2 separate regions of the Homo sapiens genome follow, and region 1 is linked to region 2. Evidence: promoter capture Hi-C in 16 types of primary human blood cells and fetal thymus (Javierre and others, 2016). All regions are on one chromosome and are shown on one strand. The core of a region is centred on a gene start or on the middle of the fragment in contact, and the rest is flanking DNA. Distances in the headings are between cores, read along the strand shown.

The links. Contacts are between HindIII fragments. The CHiCAGO score rates a contact against its expected background, and 5 or more counts as called.
Region 1: a contact is called between the fragment with the promoter of RBL2 here and the fragment with the promoter of CNOT1 in region 2, in 3 of 17 cell types (M2 macrophages, monocytes and fetal thymus). The highest score is 6.6, in M2 macrophages.

The regions. Positions count from the first base shown.
Region 1 is chr16:53,432,358-53,436,224 of GRCh38, forward strand. It overlaps RBL2 (RB transcriptional corepressor like 2), which reads left to right and starts at 2,114. Exons shown (of 22, transcript NM_005611.4): 1 at 2,114-2,439. The coding sequence starts at 2,200. RefSeq lists a silencer at 2,169-2,388 and an enhancer at 2,999-3,108. The HindIII fragment of the contact is 5,814 bases long and covers 1-3,867 here.
Region 2 is chr16:58,628,045-58,631,903 of GRCh38, forward strand. CNOT1 (CCR4-NOT transcription complex subunit 1) reads right to left here and starts at 1,782. Exons shown (of 49, transcript NM_016284.5): 1 at 1,684-1,782. RefSeq lists enhancers at 859-1,535, 1,536-2,211, 1,660-1,869, 2,160-2,649. The HindIII fragment of the contact is 12,291 bases long and covers 780-3,859 here.

The DNA.
Region 1 (3,867 bases), core at 864-3,363, 5.2 Mb before region 2:
CCAAAGTGTAGGGATTACAGGCGTGAGCCACCGCGCCTTGCCAAATTATTTATTATTATTTTTTTGAGACAGGGTCTCTGTTGCCCAAGCTGTAGTGGCATGGTCACAGTTCACTGCAGACTCCCCAGGCTTAGGCGTTCCTCCCACCTCAGTCTCCCAAGTAGCTAGGATTACAGGCGTGTACCACCACTCTGGGTTAATTTTTCTATTTTTTGTAGAGACAGGGTTTCACTATGTCGCCCAGGCTGGTCTCGAACTCCTGTACTCAAGCAGTCCTCCCACCTTGACCTCCCAAAGTGCTGGATTTACAGGTGTGATCCACAACGTCCAGCCTATATACTTAAGATACTTCTAAACCATTTGTGTTCAACTTCTGTTCTTGCCCCATAGTCACCTTGAGACTCATCACTTAGCCAACTCCAAAAGCATTGCTGATTACTGTGAATTTTACTAAGGTTTTCTTAAGAGGGTTCCATTGTCTCAAAATTGTTCCTGAAATATCCTGTTACCTGTCTACCTGATTTTCTCCTATCTTCAGAGTTCCATTTCCTGTCCTCCCGCCTGTCATTATACCTTCCATAAGCCCCTACTTTTGTCCCAGCACTTTTCCCTCTGTCAGTTTACATATCCCACCAAGCAAAACAAAAATAGCAAAACAGTAATGCCTTCTGAATCCTCAAATTGCTCAATCCTCAGATTGCTCCTCAATCTGGAAAATGTTTTATATCAAGCCCATTTATAAATCAAGGATTGGCAATTTAAAAAATTAAAATAAAGAAAGGAGAATTGGAAATAAAATGAATTGGCTGGGCACGGTGGCTCACGCCTGTAATCCCAGAACTTTGGGAGGCCGAGGTGGGTGGATCACTTGAGGTCAGGAGTTCGAGACCAGCCTGGCCAACATGGTGAAACCCTGCCTGTACTGAAAATACAAAAATTAGCTGGGTGCGGTGGCGCACACCTGTAATCCCAGATACTCAGGAGGCTGAGGCAGGAGAATCGCTTGAACCCAGGAGGCGGAGGTTGCAGTGAGCCGAGATCGTGCCACTACACTCCAGCCTGGGCAACAGAGCCAGACTCTGTCTCAAAAAAAAAAAAAAAGTTTAATTCACGCAGAGCCAGCTGAACGGCAGACAGGAGTTTGGTTATTCAAATCAGCCTACCAGAAAATTCGGAGACTGGGGTTTTTAAAGAATGACTTGGCGGGTAGGGGGCCAGGGATTGGCGAATGCTAATTTGTCAGGTGGGAGGTGAAATCACAGGGGGTTGAAGTGGGCTCTTGCTGTCTTCTGTTACTGAGTGGAATTGCAGAACTTGTTGAGCCAGATTATGGTCTGAGTGGCGCCAGCTAGTGCATCGGAATGCGCGGTCTGAAAAGTATCTCCAGCACCAATCTTAGGTTTTACAATAGTGATGTTATCCCTGAGAGCAATTGGGGAGGTCAGGAATCTTATAGCCTCTGGCTGCAAGCCTCCTAAATCATAATTTCTAATCTTGTGGCTAATTTGTTAGTTCTACAAAGGCAGACTGATCCCCAGGCAAGAATGGGGTTTGTTTTTGGAAAGGACTGTTACAATCTTTGTTTCAAAGTGAAATTAGAAATTAAATTCCTCCTGTAGTTAGTTAGGTCTTCGCCCAGGAATGAACAAGGGCAGCTCGGAAGTGAGAAGCGTGGAGTCATTTAGGTCAGATCCCTTGCACTGTCATAACTTTCTCACTGTTAGGATTTTTGCAAAGGCAGTTTCGTGAACGTACAGAGACAGGCCCTTGCTATTATCCCTATTTTTTAGATAAGGATATCCAGGCGATGAGGAAGTTTTACTTCTGGGAACAGCCTGGATACGAAACCTTCACACGTCAGTGTCTTTTGGACATTTTCTCGTCAGTACAGCCCTGTTGAATGTTCTCACGGTGGGGAGGTACGTGTTTAAAATGCGGGGAAGGTGCTTTTATTTCACCCCTGGTGAAACTAGGGGAGCTAATTTTTTTAAACATGATTTTTGGCCCCCTTGAACCGCCGGCCTGGACTACGTTTCCCAGCAGCCCGTGCTCAAGACTACGGGTGCCTGCAGGCGGTCAGCGTCGTTTGCGGCGGCGCAGGCGCGGTGCGGGCGGCGGACGGGCGGGCGCTTCGCCGTTTGAATGGCTGCGGGCCCGGGCCCTCACCTCACCTGAGGTCCGGCCGCCCAGGGGTGCGCTATGCCGTCGGGAGGTGACCAGTCGCCACCGCCCCCGCCTCCCCCTCCGGCGGCGGCAGCCTCGGATGAGGAGGAGGAGGACGACGGCGAGGCGGAAGACGCCGCGCCGCCTGCCGAGTCGCCCACCCCTCAGATCCAGCAGCGGTTCGACGAGCTGTGCAGCCGCCTCAACATGGACGAGGCGGCGCGGGCCGAGGCCTGGGACAGCTACCGCAGCATGAGCGAAAGCTACACGCTGGAGGTGCGCTCGCGGGCGGAGGGGCGCTTCCGGCCTAGTTGGCGTGAACCGGTGCCTTCCGAGCCGCGTCGCGCGCCTCGAGAGACTCTCGGGCGGGTTGCGGGCTCCCAGCCCCGAGAGGGGTGGGGACTTCCTCTGCGCTATTCCGAGGCTCTTAGCCGCTCCGAGGGCTAACCCGCTCTCGCCGCGCTTTCCTGCGGCTTCCGAATGGGGAACGCGTCTTGCCCTAAAGTAGCACAGCAAGGCTGAGATCGCGCTGGGGTCCCGTTGAGGAAAATGGGTGTGTGTGGCCCATCTGACCCCCCGCCCGCCTTGTTAGTAGAATGAACTAGTGTCGTTGTCAAGACCACACGGACAAGGGGAGGGGACTTGCCCTTATTTGCACCGCGATTAACCGGGTTGTGGCACCTGGGTCTCCAGGCGTCTCCGTCTGTTCGCTTCCCCCTGTTAACCAAATTGCCTTTGCCCTGGCGTTGCGGGCGTTTGAGTCAACGTGCTGATGCGTTTTGGGCTGTGTTTACGTCTGTGTAAACAAATTAATACTCATTTCCCCCCAGGCCAGATGAAATGAGCCCTCCGCCGACCCGGATGTAGACACATGCCCCCATTTGTCACTAGGATCAGGACTGTGGCTACCTCGAGGGCTTTTTGGTCACCCCGGGCATTGCACAGGACTCCTGTTGTTGTTGCGATCCGGGTGTGTTAGGTCGCAGCCTTCGGACAGGGCTTGCAGATGAGAAAAATGGCCATTCTAGCCAGTGAGTGTCAGCTTTGTATGCACCTCCCCTTCATGGGCCAATGGGAAGTGACACGGAAGTACGGATTGTTTATCAGCTGTTTGACTGTGTGTGTGGCATTTAAACCTGAGGCCATTTGATTTCTCAAGTCGTTTTATAATTAATTTGTAGAAAGAGTCGGGCAAATAGGTCCAGGATGCAAAGCCTAACCAAGGTATTATTTAAATATGATGTTTTTGGCTATGTGTACTGATGAGTGAGGTTATTTTTAATTTGTATTTGCATTAATAGAATTTTAATTCAATTACTAGTTCCCTCTTTGAATTGTTAGGTCTGCAGAAGATAGTGTATGGTGGCTTTAGAACCCGACAGACCTGAAACCGCTGGAAAAGTTCAGTATGGTGATCTCTAAACTGGAGATATTTGTGTTTACCTCACAGAGCTGTTCTGAAGATTAAATAAGGCAATAATGTAGTTTCTGGCACATAAAGCACCCATATGGACAGTGTTTTCAAGTTTACTAAGCTCTTTGTATATTTACATGATCTGGCTGAGTAAGCTATGTTCCTATTCATCTCTCAGTGCCTTTCTGTAGTCTGGCAAAGAGAAGGACTGGTTGGCTTTTTATGTTGTTTTTTGTTTTTTGGGTTTTTTTTTGGTAAATGGCCTTAAAGGCTTCCAAACAAGCTCTTAT
Region 2 (3,859 bases), core at 532-3,031:
CTCGAACTCCTGACCTCTGGTGATTCACCTACCTTGGCCTCCCTAAGTGCTGGGATTACAGGCGTGAGCCACCGCGCCCAGTCGATTCTAGACTTGTTTCCACTAAGACTTGGGGAACCCACACTTGTTGAAAAGGAACTAACTCTCCAAACTAGTTTTATCAACATGCTATCATTTCAGTCAAAGCACAGCTAGCCACCTAAAACCATGTATCATCAATGCATATTCTCCTTAGACAAGGTAACAATTTGCAGTATCCTAAAACATAATTATTTAAACTGTTACCACATGTCTTCTTAATAGCTAAAATACTCTGCTGCCAATCTTTAAAAGGGTAGGAATACCAACCGGGACCACAGATCACTTAAGTATTAAACCCAAGTACCTATAGAAAAAAATTGTTCTTAATCTGTTTGACCTTCCTCCTAATATTTTACTTGCCTTCCCTCATTTTTTTAATCCATGTATTCCCTATTCCTATCAAAGGGGCTGTCATAAGGAAAACGTTCGGCATTGTTTCAAACAGTATAATTATATTCACTCAATCACTGACTTAAAAAAAAAAAAAAACCCAAGTAGTCACAGGCTATCGAATTGTAGAGAAATCGGCAGGGTAGGTTAAGCATTGTTACTCAGTTTTCAGGAAGAAAACAGACTTTATTAGAGTCCTAAGAAATGTGACATTTGATTAACTTCATGGGAAAAGTTTGTCATAAAGTTTATTTTAAATACAACATTTTCAAACGCACAGATGTCAAGCATTCTTTTTTAATCTACAAAGCTTACTCCTCGGGGAGTTAGTATCTGTGAGCCCTCTTGGGTGAATTCTGCAAAGGAGGTGGTACTGAAAAAGTATTATTTGTGTTTGGCCTTAAGTACCTCTACAAGACCTGCCGTGGATCTTATCAGCCTTGAGGCCTACAAGTGCTCAGCTCACTAGCGGGACACTTGTCCTGGGTGAGCAGGACCGCCACTACTGCAGACACCGGACCGAGTAGGTGGGGGCCAACTTCAAAGAAAGTGTGAGCGCCCAGGCGCGCGAGTGGAACAAAACCTGTAGCAAGTAATAAGGAAGTGCTTGCTCCCGCCCGCCCTTCCCATCCGGGGACACCCGAAACCTGGGGGGCTTTGACAACGTGCTGGGGGCGTAAGACGGGGAGAGTGGCAGCTCCGAGTACACGGAGAAGAACTGGAAACATGCAAAAACTCCAAACACGGTCCCCCCCGCCAGAAGCCCTAGGCCTCGGAAGCCGATGCCCACTGCAACCATCAGGGAGCAGAGACAGAAACAGTAGTTAAGGAGGTCGTGGAGGTCTCAGAGGGGTGCAACCCGCGCGAAGCCAGGCCCAGCGACACGAACTGCCGCCGCTGCCGCCCCCTGAGCCTCCAGGCCCGGGACAGAGACCACCATGGGTCTCACCCCGCGCTCTACCCTCCGCTTCCTGGAGCCTTCTCGCTGGCCTCTCATCTTCAGAGCGCGAAGCCTCCGAGAGCCGTGTGGAGAAGAGTCCGCCCTCTCCCGCCTCGTCCCACTTCCCCGTCCCGGCTGCCTCTCACTCCCTAGAGCTCCGGGAAACGCTTCCAGTGGCCCCAGGTCCACCCCTGTTCCTCCTCCCACCGGCTCTCGCGTTCCCAAGCTGACACCGCCACCCTACCCTAGCCCCTGACGCCAACCCGCCTCACCTCAGGCGGCTCCGGCAGCGCTGGACACAGGAAACTCCTGGGTCCCCGACTCCGGCTCTCCTCGACCCCCTCTTCGGTTAACTCCGCTTGTTTCTCTACAAAATGGCGCCGGAGGTCGCGCGCTCACGTCGCGGCCTTTCCCCTCCCCGTTCCCATTTCATCATTCGCTGCCCGCCCGAGGAGGGATGGCCCCAGAGCCAGCCAATGGCCGCGCCCCGCCTGTGGCTTCTACCCAATCACCGACAGGTGCCCGCGGATTTAAACCAATCACACTCTATCACTTGCAGAAGTCGAGGAAGAAATCAGGCTCCTGCTAGCAACTACCAATCCGGCCTCCTACTTCGCGGACTTTGGCCAATTGCCGCTCACCAGGCCCAGGGGACCGGAGTCAGAGCCCTCGCGCCTGCGCTCGAGGCGAGGGCCAATAGGGAGAGGCTGATAACTTCGATTTGGGGCTTCACGTACTTCCCACCTGCCCTGGAGGGCTGCGACCAGTGGGGCTTGGCATTGCCTTTGAGGAACAATAAATTATGGAAGGGGCCCATAACTCCTCGCCACCCTGCGCGGGAACTACTTTGAATTACAGTGAAACAGCTTTCCTCCACTTTCCTTCCTCTTTCGAAATGTCACGGTCCAGTAGACTTCGGGGATTCCCAACCGAAACAATCCCCTCCCCTAGTGTCCCTTTGGCGGGGAACGCCAGCCAGAAAGCAAGCCAGGTTGTGACTAGAGTTGGGGCGCTTTGCATCCTGGGATGTGTAGTCGCGCTCCTCTACCCCGTTCCCATCGCAGAAGTAATGCGTCTTCGTTCGTCGCTGCGCCCTAGAAGGAGCAGTGCATGCTGGGGGTTGTAGTCACCCAGGTGGCCACCTTGTCCTCGCTTGCTTCGCTTTGGTCAAGGGAACTTTCTGTTTTAGTTCTGTCTATTGAAGAAGGGACACCTTCCAGAGACGCCTTCCAGAGACGTAGGAGACGCAAGTTCTCTTCCTGGCTTAAGTCCTAGAAGCCGTCTAAGAAAGGATACCCATGTCCTTTGCTCTCAAGAGAAAAAGCATAGAAACATATTTTGCTATGGTTTGTTTGTTAACTATGATAGTTGGTAAGATTTTATACTCACCTGTACCCAAAAGAGAAAGGATTGGGAAGGAAGTGTTGACTGGTTAGCTCTATTACCTTTTGAAATTAAGGCCGGGCGCGGTGGCTCACGCTTGTAATACCAGCTCTTTGGGAGGCTGAGGCGGGTGGATCACGACGTCAGGTGATCGAGACCATCCTGGCTAACACGGTGAAACCCCATCTCTACTAAGATACAAAAAATTAGCCGGGCGTGGTGGCGCACACCTGTAATCCCAGCTACTTAGGAGGCTGAGGCAGGAGAATCGCTTGAACCCGGGAGGCGTGGGTTGCAGTGAGCAGAGATCGCGCCACTGCACTCCAGCCTGAGCGACAGAGCAAAACTCTGTCTCAAAAAAAAAAAAAAAAAAAAAAAGGCAGGGCGCTGCGGATCACGCCTGCAATCCCAGCACTTTGGGAGGCCGAGGCGGGCGGATCACGAGGTCAGGAGATGGAGACCATTCCGGCTAACACGGTGAAACCCCGTCTCTACTAAAAATACAGAAAAATTAACCGGGCGTAGTGGCGGGCGCCTGTAGTCCCAGCTACTCGGGAGGCTGAGGCAGGAGAATGGCGTGAACCCGGGAGGCAGAGGTCGCAGTGAGCCGAGATCGCGCCGCTTGACTCCAGCCTGGGCGACTGAGCGAGACTCCGTCTCCAAAAAAAAAAAAGAAAAGAAAAAGAAATTCAAACCTATCCCTGTGCTCACCCCTGTCCTCAGACTAGGCTCAGTAGGTGGTCTTCTGGCCATCTCTCTCATATTACCTCTCGTGCCCAAAAAAATACTTAAAAAAAATTATGGTAAGAAACACATGAAATTTACCATCTTAATCATTTTTAAGTGTAGAATACAGTAGTGTTAACTATATGCATATTGTTGTACAACAGATCTCTAGAACTTTTTCATCTTGCAAAACTGAAACTACATCTGTTGTTTAACACCTTCCATTTCCCCCTCCCCCTAGTCCCTGACAATCACTATTCTTCTTTATGTTCCTGAGTTTGATTACTTTAGATACCTCATATAAGTGGAATCATGCAGTATTTGTCTTTTTGTGACTGG